3 separate regions of the Homo sapiens genome follow, and regions 2 and 3 are each linked to region 1. The links are contacts of gene promoters, found by promoter capture Hi-C in blood cells and fetal thymus (Javierre and others, 2016). All regions are on one chromosome and are shown on one strand. Each heading gives the region's core, a stretch centred on a gene start or on the middle of the fragment in contact. The rest is flanking DNA. Distances are from core to core; before and after follow the strand shown. Region 1 holds the start of CFL2 (cofilin 2). Region 2 overlaps HEATR5A (HEAT repeat containing 5A). Region 3 overlaps STRN3 (striatin 3).

Region 1 (3,968 bases), core at 979-3,478:
CCAACTACTCGGGAGGCTGAGGCAGGAGGCTCACTTGAGGCCAGGAGTATGAGGCTGCAGTGAGCTATGATCACATCCTGCACTCCAGCAACCTGGGTGGGCAACAGAACCAGAGACTATCTCTTAAATATATATATATAGAGAGAGAGACTTGTTTCTCTGACTCTGTAAGACCATAAATAATAAATTTGTGTTGTTTTAAACAAGTAATTTTATGGTAATTTGTTATAGCAACAGTCGAACGCTAATACATGTGGTATCTGACACTCAGATCCCCCTCCACTACACAGTGACCAAAATTCATGCAGCAATGATTGGCAATGCTGCCCCTTTACCAAGTGGTGGTAAGTTCTGGTTATAACTCACAGAGGTGAAGGCAGGAAGCTGCTACTGGCCCTGACATTCTCAGTGCCATGCTCACAAGGGCATGTAGAAAGGCTTCACAATTTTCAGAAGCTTCCTTTTCATTCTCTTTACAGCACTAAAGCATCTTAAATGTATTATTTCAGCACCTATTAAGCACCTACTATCTGTCAGGTTCCAGAAATTCAAAGATAACCAGGACTCAGATCCTTAAGGAGCTTACAGCGCAGTAGGGTGGCAGAAGACATAAACAAGTTATTATAATGTAACAAAATATATGCAAGACAAAAATAACTTCAGGAAAAGAATCTTAGAACATGTGAATTACCATCTCTGTTTGGGGAGGGTAAGAGAGAATGGGAGGCATGGAAAGGGGTTGGAGTCCGAGCTAGGGGGTGACTAGCATCTTTGGAATCCCCAGCTTTGGTGGGTAAGGTTCTGACACCCACTTTAGGCCCCAGTGTCATCAGACCTGGTCTCTGCTGGGGCTGCTGCAAATCTCTGAGGTTGGGAAGGGAAGGTAACCGCAAGATGAAGCGAACAGGAATTTGCTAATACCTACACATAGCAGATGATCAGAGCTCTGGAGAGACATTCTCCATGACTTCTTGGAAGTTCAACAGATAAAGTGAAAGGTTCCATAAATTGTAATGTACCAGCTAGATATAAAGTATTATCCACTTGCTTGGGATTCATGCTTAGACATTGGGAAATCCCTTCTCAATTTTTGTCTCTAAACGAAGTCTATCTTCCAATTAAGAAAACAAACCCAAGATATAGACAGAAAAATAGGTCTGTTTCAATGCCTAGCATGTTCCATTTAAAATACAGTAAATTTGGGCTGAAAGAACTTATCACGCAATCTAGGGCAAACACCATCTCATGACTTTCCTGCCTAACCTCAATCCTGAGACCACCAAAAACACACCATTTCCTACTGAACATTGATATACTCAGAAACTGAAATCTAAAGCTGGAAAGGGCCTTAACGATAATTTAATAACAGTTTGTTTTACACATGAAGAACCCTGAGGTATGGAGGAGTTAAGATTAAAAAAAGAGAAACTGCCTTGGCGCAGTTATATGGGCTTTGCTAGAAGAGGCTGCGTCGGCTTATTTGATATCAGCTGTCATAGCTGGAGCTTCATGAAATCTCTAAGAGAGAGTACAATCCATTTCCTATGAAGTCTAAAATGTAAAAGGATATTACTAAGGAATGCTACCACGTAATTTTTTAATCATAATTATTATTTCAACCAGAGTTTTGAAAAGTGATTTACCAACACTGCGTATCATTTTGTTTTTGCTAAGTACTATCAACTGGAGCAATCTCGTGTAGTATTTATTCTCATTTATCTCTAAACAACTGGGGGTTTTCCAAAAAGACTCAAAATGTCGAAATCCAGCCTCTTTCGGGAAAACCACAGGTAAATAAGGAAAGACACCTTCGCAGGAGTTCCCCTCACACGCACCCACCCCTGGCGCAGGGCCCTACGGAGGCGGTGGAAACGCCCCTCTGGGAGCCCAGCACTCTCTCCCACCGGCTTGACGGGTGATGCTCGGGGGCTGGAGGCGGCTCTGCCAGGCTCCCGGGCTCCGCTACCACCGCGTCGCCCCCCCCGGCCTGCAGGGCTCGCGCTCTGAGGTCAGGCCGAGGACGCGGACAGCCGGGGAGCCGGGGCCGCGAGACAGAAGGGCCGGCCTGGGAGCGGGTGGCGCCGGCTGGGGACCAGGCGTGCCCACGTGACCGCCCCGCCCGCTGCCTGCGGCCCGCCGAGCCCCGCCACCTCCCTCGGGCTGCAGCTCCCGGCGTGCCCCGCACTCTCCGCTGCCCACCCGCTCGCCCGCCCCTCCTTCTCCTCCCAGTGCCACAGAGCCGAAGCCCGAGCTGCCGCCGCAGCCACAGCCGAGGGCACTATGGTAAGACGAGCGCGCTGGCCGGGAGGCCGCGGCGAGGCGAGAAAAGCCCCCCGCACGGCCCCGGGAGTGAGGCCGCCATTTTAACCTGATTTTGGCCTCCAAGGTGGGCGCTTCTGCTCTGCGGCTCCGCTGCTCTCCAGCCGACCGGCCTGCCCTCCGGCCGTCAGGCCCTGCCCTGCTGCTCTTTGGATTTTGGGGGGCGGGGAGGGCCCGGGCGTCGGCGCAGGTTGGGGGTCGGGGCCGGGCGGGCGGGGGCGCGAGAGGGTCTGCGGACTGCAGCCGCTCGCGCCGCCTTTGCCCTTCGCTTCCTAATTTTACTTAACACGCGAGGCTTTAAAATTGGTACGTGCTGCGAACGCTGTGTGGGTCAGGGTCTGGACGGCCTGTAATAAAACCCTTACGGGGAGATTAAGGAAGAGGGAAAACACTTTTTAAAATGCTTTCTCGCCGTAAAAGCTTTTACACTCGATCAGTTAGTTTTGGAGTGTCTGCATGTGAGCTGTGTGTGGGCCGTGGGCGGTTTGGAGTTTACACTTGATTCTCTTTCCTTATGAGGAAACGTCAGTGGCTAGGATGACTTTAAAGAAAAAAATAGTAGAAGCATTAACTGAAATCCAAAAGTGTTTTTTTAAGGCCAGCCGAGTTGACACAATACAGAAGGTATTTTTGCTGCCACTCCTGAAGCTCTGACATCACCCAGTGAAATAGGAAACATTTCAGGGATGGGACAACTTGTATTTGTCCCTTTCGCTTCCACGTCCAAACCCCTTTAAGAAGGATGAATGGGCAGGATGAGTTAGACTCCTTCGCTGTATCGTCTACTGATTCTTAAAATGTGACAAATCTGATTGGACGACTTACATGGTACGGTGCAATTTTTGATGTCCAGACTAAAGTGAGTCTTCTCTAGGCAAACAGTAATTTTGGTTAAAACCAAAATACGTGTTCTGAATTACTGTTCTGTGTTTATTTTCAGGCTTCTGGAGTTACAGTGAATGATGAAGTCATCAAAGTTTTTAATGATATGAAAGTAAGGAAATCTTCTACACAAGAGGAGATCAAAAAGAGAAAGAAAGCAGTTCTCTTCTGTTTAAGCGATGACAAAAGACAAATAATTGTAGAGGAAGCAAAGCAGATCTTGGTGGGTGACATTGGTGATACTGTAGAGGACCCCTACACATCTTTTGTGAAGTTGCTACCTCTGAATGATTGCCGATATGCTTTGTACGATGCCACATACGAAACAAAAGAGTCTAAGAAAGAAGACCTAGTATTTATATTCTGGTGTGTAAAAACAAAAGAAAAAAGTACTTTTAAAATGCAAGGATTATTATTATCATAGTCAGTCTTACCTTTGTTTTTCTTATAAATGGGATTCAATAATTTTTTTTTTTTCTGTAGGGCTCCTGAAAGTGCACCTTTAAAAAGCAAGATGATTTATGCTAGCTCTAAAGATGCCATTAAAAAGAAATTTACAGGTACAAACTTGAATATTTGGGGCAGAGAAATTATTCTTTATTAATTATAATAAAGTAATAGGATAATGTTTTTTCTTTTTAGGTATTAAACATGAGTGGCAAGTAAATGGCTTGGATGATATTAAGGACCGTTCGACACTTGGAGAGAAATTGGGAGGCAATGTAGTAGTTTCACTTGAAGGAAAACCATTATAAAATGACAGTCAA
Region 2 (4,041 bases), core at 300-2,799, 3.3 Mb after region 1:
GAGATTATTTAAATTTATTATTTTAGTTATATTCTTAACACATCACATCTTGCTAAGCAAAGACTTGTCATTCAATGTATTTAATTAAACCTATTCTCATATCTCATTAATTCAGACAAGGTTCCCATTCCCATATTATATTTGGAATTTCTTTCCGAGAGAATTATCCACTTGTTCTGATTTGACTAGAATGGTTTGTTTTGTCCTCACTCTTTTTGAGTGCTATCCATTGACTGTATGAGCTGCAGGGAGTCCTAAATTAGTAGTAAGTTGGTTGGTTGGTTTAAAATACACTAGCCTTCTTCTTTAGAAAATTTATATGCCAACTCATAATACTTCCTGCTTTTTCAGAGGTGATTGGTAATAGGTGTTTTCTCATATTAGATGCTCTCTGGCCTTGTACTGTGTAAGCATACATTATCCATAAATGTGAAATGTCCTGTTTTTCTTCTCTGTTGTTTTATAACATGGACCCCTTTTTTTGAAACAGGGTCTTGCTTTGTCACCTAGGCCAGAGTGCAGTGGCGAGATCATAGATCACTGCAGCCTCAAATGCCAGGGCTCAAGCAATCTTCCCGTCTCAGCCTCCCAAGTGGCTGAAACTACAGGCACGTAATTCCATTGCCTGGCTAATTCTTTTTATTTTTTTGTGAAGATAGGATCTCACTCTGTTGCCCAGGCTGGTCCTTTTTTTTTTTTTTTTTTTTTTTCCAAGGAGACATGGTCTTTCTTTATTGCCCAGGCTGCAATGCAGTGGTGTGATCCTAGCTCACTCCTAGGCTGGTCTTGAATTTCTGGCCTCAATTGGTCCTCCCACCTTGGCCTTCTGAGTCGTTGGGATTACAGGCATGAGCCACTGTGCCCAGCCTCATAGACTTTTTTACTATAACATTTTAATAAATTTCACTCTTCAGTATGAGACTATTTTGACTACCTCTAACCACTATAGTATACTACCTCTTGGAAGACTATTATCAGCTACTGAGTTACAAAAGTAGTATGTAGCTTTTTTTTGTTGTTGAGACTGAGTCTCACTCTGTTGCCCAGGCTGGAGTTTCAGTGGCATAATCTCAGCTCACTACAACCTCTGCCTCCTGGGTTCAAGCGATTCTTCTGCCTCAGCCTCCCGAGTAGCTGGGACTACAGGCATGTGCCACCACGCCCGGCTAATTTTTTGTATTTTTAGTAGAGATGGGGTTTCACTGTGCTAGCCAGGATGGTCTCGATCTCCTGACTTTGTGATCCACCCGCCTCAGCCTCCCAAAGTGCTGGGATTACAGGCGTGAGCCACCGCACCTGGCTGTATGTAGCATTTTTAAGAGAGAGACTCCTGTAAGAAAACTTTTTTTGGATAATTATGGATTTAAAAGGATAGTTGCTCAAAACTAAAAGTAAATTCAAATTCTATACAGCTATACTTGAATAATCTTACATTGTTGTCACATGTGTTCTACAAAAAATTATGGGATTGTTGTGTACTACCTCATATACCAGTATTTAACCTTGAAAACTTAATTTTTTATAGTTTCCTTTATGACAGTCCTATTATGTAGTCTACACGAATGACAGTTCTTTATCGTTTACATTTATTTTATGTAAGAATTAATTTTTCAAGATATTGTTAGCTGCTATCATTTAGTAATTTATAAACTGATATGCTTTTTTTAAAACTTGTTCTATATGTAAATAGATTATTATGACATTAGCAGAGGATTTGCTGTGTTCTGCTGCTCAAAACAGTCGCCTTTCAGCTCAGCGCACACAAGCTGGATGGTTGCTGATTTCTGCTCTGATGACATTAGGTAACAGTCTGTAGAAGGTTTACATACCTTGAAATACTTTGTGTTTTCTGAGTGAAATGATTCTTATATGTGATTTGATGAAATGAACTTTTAATACATACCAGAATTTAAATAGCCACACAAACATTTTTCTTGTAGTAGTCACCTTAAAAAGCCTTTTACTTTCGTCATTGCTTAAAACCTTTTGAGATCTCTCTTGATTTTCTCTTCCGGGCTAGATGATAAGCCTCAAGTAGGATAAGCCGAGTTACTAATCATCTTTCAGGCTTAACTCTGAACAACTGTGGCTTTTTCAAAAATCATTGACATCCATCTTCAGAAAAAAACATTTCCACAATATAGGCAAAAGAACATACCCATAGCTTGGGAATCCAGTTCTATAATTGTTTGAGGATTCATAACAGCCAATAAGGTTGCTACATTGAAGGGGATGAATTTTACTTAAATTATATTTATTAAAAAACAGTAATTGTTTTACAGTCATGACTATTTATATCCTCTAAATTTTTGAGACAGGGTCTCACTCTGTCACACGAGCTGGAGTGCAGTGGCATGATCATGGCTCACTGCAGCCTTGACCTCCTGGGCCCAAGTGATCCTCCTACCTAAGCCTCCCAAGTAGCTGGGACCATAGGCATGCAACATCATGCCTGGCTAATTTAAAAAAATTTTTTTTGTAGAGATGGGGTCTCACTATGTTGCCCAGGCTCGTCTCGAACTTGTGGGCTCAAGCAGTCCTTCCGCCTTGGCCTCCCAAAGTGTTGGCATTATAAGCATGAGCCACTGAAAACTTTATTTATTTATTTTTTGCCCAGTCTTATGGTGCTAATGAAACTTAATTTTATTACTCTATCACACCTATATTTTAAGTCTCTGTTGTCATACAAGTTATAGCTAGATATAAAACAACTGGCTGAGGCTGGGCATGGTGGCTCACGCTTGTAATCCCCGCACTTTGGGAGGCTGAGGCGGGTGGATCACTTGAGGTCAGGAGTTCAAGATCAGCCTGGCCAACAAGGTGAAACCCCATCTCTACTAAAATACAAAAATTAGCCGGGCATGGTGGTGCATGCCTGTAGTCCCAGCTACTCGGGAAGCTGAGGCAGGAGAATTGCTTGAACCCAGGAGGTGGAGGTTGCAGTGAAGTGAGATTGCACCACTGCACTCCAGCTTGGGTGACAGAGCAAGACTCCCTCTCAAAATAAAACAAAAAATGAATAGTTCGGGCGCAGTGGCTCACGCCGTAATCCTAGCACTTTGGGAGGCCTAGGCGGGCGGATCATCTGAGGTCAGGAGTTCAAGACCAGCCTGGCCAACAACACGGTGAAATCTTGCTTCTACTAAAAAAAATACAAAAATTAGCCAGACATGGTGGCATGTGCCTGTAGTCCCAGCTACAGGGGAGGCTGAGGCAGGAGAATTGCTTGAACCCAGGAGGCAGAGGTTGCAGTGAGCTGAGATCATGCCACTGCACTCCAGCCTGGGTGACAGAACAAGACTCCGTCTCAAAAAATAAAAATAAAAAATAATAATAAAATAAAGCAACTGACCTGATTTGGCCGATAAATCATTTTGACACCTATAAAGTAATTTGACCTAAAGGAGCTTAAATTAGAATAAACAATCATAAATGAAGAACTACTTTAAGTAGTGTTTTTTTTTTTTGTTTGTTTTTTTTTGAGGTGGAGTCTCACTTTGTCACCCAGGCTGGAGTGCAGTGGCGCGATCTCGGCTCACTGCAAGCTCTACCTCCTGGGTTCATGCCATTCTCCTGCCTCAGCCTCCCGAGTAGCTGGGACTACAGGCGCCCACCACCACACCTGGCTAATTTTTTGTATTTTTTAGTAGAGACGGGGTTTCACCATGTTAGCCAGGATGGCCTCGATGTGCTGACTTCGTGATCCACCTGCCTCGGCCTCCCAAAGCGCTGGGATTACAGGCGTGAGCCACCGCACCTGGCCAAGTAGTGTTCTTAAGATGATTAAAGAGATTTATTGGACTAGATCAAGTTTAGCTTCAAGGAGCCAAATTTGGCCTACTACCAATATTTATTATACAGCCTGTGAGCTAAGAACAGTTTTTATATTTATTAGTGGTTGGGGAAAAAAGATATTTTGTAATACATGAGAATCATGTGAAAGTCACATTTCAGCATTCATAGTTTTATTTGTGTACAACCACACTTGTTTGTGGATTGTCTGTGACCTTTAGGTGTACAGTGGCAGAGTTGAGTAATTGC
Region 3 (4,297 bases), core at 1,104-3,603, 3.7 Mb after region 1:
CTGGTGGATCAGTTGATCCTAGAAGTTTGAGACCAGCCTGGGCAACAGCAAGACACTTACTTCTTTTTCTTTTCTTTCCTTTTCTTTTTTTTTTTTGAGACAGAGTCTTGCTCTGTCTCCAGGCTGGAGTGCAGTTGGCACAATCTTGGTTCACTGCAACCTCTGCCTCCTGGATTCAAGCGATTCTCAGGTCTCCCGAGTAGCTGGGATTATAGGCGCCCGCCACCATGCCCAGCTAATTTTTGTATTTTTAGTAGAGATGGGGTTTTGCCATGTTGGCCAGGCTGTTCTTGAACTCCTGAGCCTCAGGTGATCCGCCCGCCTCAGCCTCCGAAAGTGCTGGGATTACAGGCATGAGCCACTGCACCCGGCCCCTTTGCCTTTTTAAAATTGCTTTTTTTGTGTTGTTGTTGTTGTTGTTGAGTTTTCCATATACTATTATCTCTACTGTTGTGTTTGAGAATGTCCAAAAAGAATTGTCAAAAACATTTTTAATAGTCGTATGGACTGATATATTCAAATAAAACTTTTTAATGATGTTTTATTTATTTGTTTTTACTTTTTTTTTTTTTTAAAGAATAGAGAAGGGGTCTTGCTATGTTGACTAGGCTGGTCTTGGACTCCTGGCCACAAGCATGCCTCCCCAAGTACTGGGATTACAGGTGAACCACTGCTCCCAACCTTTAATGACATTTTCTGATAAGGTCTTTTATAATATGGCTTCTTCTAACCTTTCGGTTTTATGTTCCGTCTCTTCCTCCTCCTCTCCTCTACCCTCTTCCTCTCACCCTCACCCCCAAACACACACTCAAAATAAAGTTCCAGCCATTCTTTATTTCCCTAAACTCTGGTAAAGTTAGTGTATCTTCTCCAGCCCTTCACACATACTGTTTCCTCTGCTTAGAACACTTCCTCTCCCATTTGATCTGAGTTCTCTTCAGGTCAAAGCTTAGCTATCATTTCCTCTGGGAAAACATTTTTGAGCCTGCAAGTGTAAATGAGGTATTCCTCCTATGTGATGAACTTCCATTATTATAATATTTATTAACCTGCATTACAGATGCCTGTCCTATTTACTTTATCTTTAACAGTAGGCTGTAATCTCTGTGAGGGTAGGGATTGTATTGCCCTATGTATGATTGTACCCCAGAATGAAAGAATGAATACTAGTACTCATATTATTTCAACAAATTTGTGTTTCTCATAGGTTGAAGGAACTCTGTGTGATACAGAGTTGAACATAAGTTCTTTTATTCAGGTAACTTCAAATCTAATGGAGGAGAAATAGGTTACCTCATACCTTGCCCTACTCCACATGACCTCTTAATAGTAGGAACTTCAAACCAAATGGTATGATCATACCTGGTCAAAACCAAGCTGAAAATAAAACCTAGAAATACTGCTGGCCTGTTTCTGAAGCAGCTAATGATTAGACTGTATCTTCTCTTTCTCATATTAGTCAAGAGTAAGCTGTGATGATGTTAATGCTATGTCTTAATTCCTTCCTTTTCTGGTACAGCTGCCCCTCTGTATCTGTGGGTTCCACATCCTTGAGTTCAACCAGCTGTGAATCATAAATATTCAAGGAAAAGAAAGGACTGTTGCATCTGTACTGCACATGTACAGACTTTTTTCTTTGTCATTATTCCCTAAACAGTATAATATAACAACTATTTACATGCACCTACATTGTATTAGGTATTTAAAGTAATCAAGAGATAATTTAAAGTATATGGGAGGATATGCATAGGTTATATGCAAATACTACACCATTTTATATAAAGGGCTTGAGCATCTCTGCGTTTTGGTATCCTAGGAGGGTCCTGAAACCGCTCCCTCACAGATAGTGAGGGCCAACTGTATTTTAACAGATGAAATCTGTGCTGTGTCAGCTTTAGGGAGACAAGTCATGGTCACATTTTTTGGCACTCATATACACCCTAAATTCTGTGGTCTTCATTATAAGTTAAGGAACCTGTCTCCCCTTTTGCATATCAAGTACATGCCATCTCTTAAAAGTCATAGTGCCCTTTGGCCGGGCGCGGTGGCTCAGGCCTGTAATCCCAGCACTTTGGGAGTCTGAGGCGGGCGGATCATGAGATCAGGAGATCGAGACCATCCTGGCTAATACGGTGAAACCCCGTCTCTACTAAAAATGCAAAAAAAAATTAGCCGGGTGTGCTGGTGGCGGGCACCTATAGTCCCAGCTACTTGGGAGGCTGAGGCAGGAGAATGGCATGAACCCGAGAGGCAGAGCTTGCAGTGAGCCGAGATTGCGCCACTGTACTCCAGCCTGGGTAACAGAGTGATACTCCATCTCAAAAAAAAAAAAAAGTCATAGTGCCCTCAGAAGACTGCTAGAACACTCTTGCCACTCTGGTTTACTGTTACTTCTCTTTAACTCCTTGAGTCATTAGGCCCAGGGATTTTTTCAGGAAATGTGTATAGGAGTCCCTCTTTCCTGAGTTTATAGCCTCTTGTTCTGTCCCATTCCACATTTCTGAATTGAAATGACACACATGCTCTTAAAGTATCTGAGCCTTCCATTTTTTTGATTTAGTCTTCATTGTCACCATTGTGAGTCTTTCAATAACTGATGACAGACAATTCATATTAATCATCCCATTTCATAGATATGGAAACTGAGGTAATTAATTTGCCCAGGGTCACATGAGTTAGTATGTGTTAGGGTTGGAATTATGCATTGGAATCTCCTACCGTCTGGCTATAAATCCTGTGTTTTGTCCGGGCGCGGTGGCTCACGCCTGTAATCCCAGCACTTTGGGAGGCTGAGGCGGATGGATCACGAGGTCAGGAGATAGAGACCATCCTGGCTAACACAGTGAAACCCCATCTCTAAAAATACAAAAAAATTAGCCAGGCGAGGTGGCGGGCACCTGTAGTCCCAGCTACTCGGGAGGCTGAGGCAGGAGAATGGCGTGAATCTGGGAGGTGGAGCTTGCAGTGAGTTGAGATTGCGCCACTGCACTCCAGCCTGGGCGACAGAGCCAGACTCCATCTCAAAATAAATAAATAAATAAAAATCCTGTGTTTAAATGACTGTTTTGTTGCTGCTGTCTCGCTACCTCCCAATCTACTACCTTTGGAGAAATAGTCACTATATCATTGGGCTGCCATGAAGAGGAAGGCTTTTGAAGTCAGGCCTAGGTATATAACAGCAAGCCATCTCTTCCAGGTATGGGTGCCATTGCTGTGAAGATAGAGGAAGTTCACGGTGAAGAAGGTAGTCAGAATCTGTTTGTGGCAGGGTCCAGGCTGGGCAGGTTACTAGAACAGGGGTCTTTAAGTGATTGCTTAGTGGGCCAAAGAATAAGGTAACTGACCCCTCTCTTTATCTTGAACTTGACCAGACTACTTTCTGTGGATGATTCAAATTCCTTTTCATATGAGTCTTTTTATTTTTGAAGGTTAAGAATCTACCTGGGGTAGTGAAGGCATTGGACCCTGGGAAGCCAGTAGACTTGAGATCTACTGTCCTGATTCTTCTATCTTACTAGCCAAGACAGTGTCCGTGAGCAAGACACTTTACTTCCAGAGGGGGTGGCTTAGTTGCCTAATTTGTAAAATAATTATAATTCATTATTGGAAGTGGAGATTATAGAGCTGGAATATTCACTTCCTGTGGTATAAATAGTGTGAACAAAAGTTGGATGGCTGTAAAGTGCAAGGTCTTTTTTGAGGAATGTTGCATGTTTCACTTGTGGTAGAGTACAGAGGAATGATGAAAAATAAGCTTGAAAATGTAGGATAATGGTAGAATGGAGAGAACCTTGAAAATAGCCTGTTAGGACAGTAGATGAGTCATTCAAAACTTTGTCAGAGAAAAGTGAGAGGACCTGCTTTATAATTGTACCATGACTTCATTTTCTTTATTAATTATTCTCTTTCTCTTTTTAAATGTTCAGATTTTAAGGAATAAATTTGCATTCCAACCAAGTTTTGCTGTTTCATCTCCATTCATTGATATGCTTTAATTTTGTTGTAGTTGGGCTCAGCAGATTTCTACTTTGTATTGTATATGTTCGTTGAGTAAATATATTTGGTAAAATTAAGAAAGGTAAATAACAAATAAAAATAGGTTGTGGTGCTAGCAGAAAGGGGCATAAAGAGATAAGCTTAGAAAAGTTAATACCTGGAACAGCTTTTTGTTTATTAATTTTAGTTTGAGTATAAGGGTCAGAGTTTGGTTGATAATACCTTTTAGGATTTGCTTATGAGGCCAAAGTGCTGCTCGTGTCACAGGACCTAGCTGAGCATCTTGGACATTGTTTTTTAA

The links. The method cuts DNA at HindIII sites, captures the fragments that hold promoters and counts their contacts. A CHiCAGO score of 5 or more calls a contact.
Region 2: a fragment that was not itself captured here is called in contact with the fragment with the promoter of CFL2 in region 1 in 1 of 17 cell types (M0 macrophages); the score reaches 5.4 in M0 macrophages.
Region 3: a contact is called between a fragment that was not itself captured here and the fragment with the promoter of CFL2 in region 1, in 1 of 17 cell types (total B cells). The highest score is 5.2, in total B cells.

The regions. Positions count from the first base shown.
Region 1 is chr14:34,712,853-34,716,820 of GRCh38, reverse strand. CFL2 (cofilin 2) reads left to right here and starts at 2,228. Exons shown (of 4, transcript NM_138638.5): 1 at 2,228-2,283; 2 at 3,260-3,567; 3 at 3,685-3,761; 4 at 3,844-3,968. The coding sequence starts at 2,281. The coding sequence ends at 3,956. RefSeq lists silencers at 1,792-2,381, 2,472-2,531. The HindIII fragment of the contact is 2,283 bases long and covers 459-2,741 here.
Region 2 is chr14:31,378,228-31,382,268 of GRCh38, reverse strand. It overlaps HEATR5A (HEAT repeat containing 5A), which reads left to right. Exons shown (of 36, transcript NM_015473.4): 11 at 1,691-1,802. Among named protein-coding and RNA genes, the nearest start is that of HEATR5A, 40 kb to the left of the region's middle. The HindIII fragment of the contact is 5,231 bases long and covers 1-4,041 here.
Region 3 is chr14:30,988,204-30,992,500 of GRCh38, reverse strand. All of the region lies in intron 1 of STRN3 (striatin 3), which reads left to right. Among named protein-coding and RNA genes, the nearest start is that of MIR624, 24 kb to the left of the region's middle. The HindIII fragment of the contact is 2,806 bases long and covers 951-3,756 here.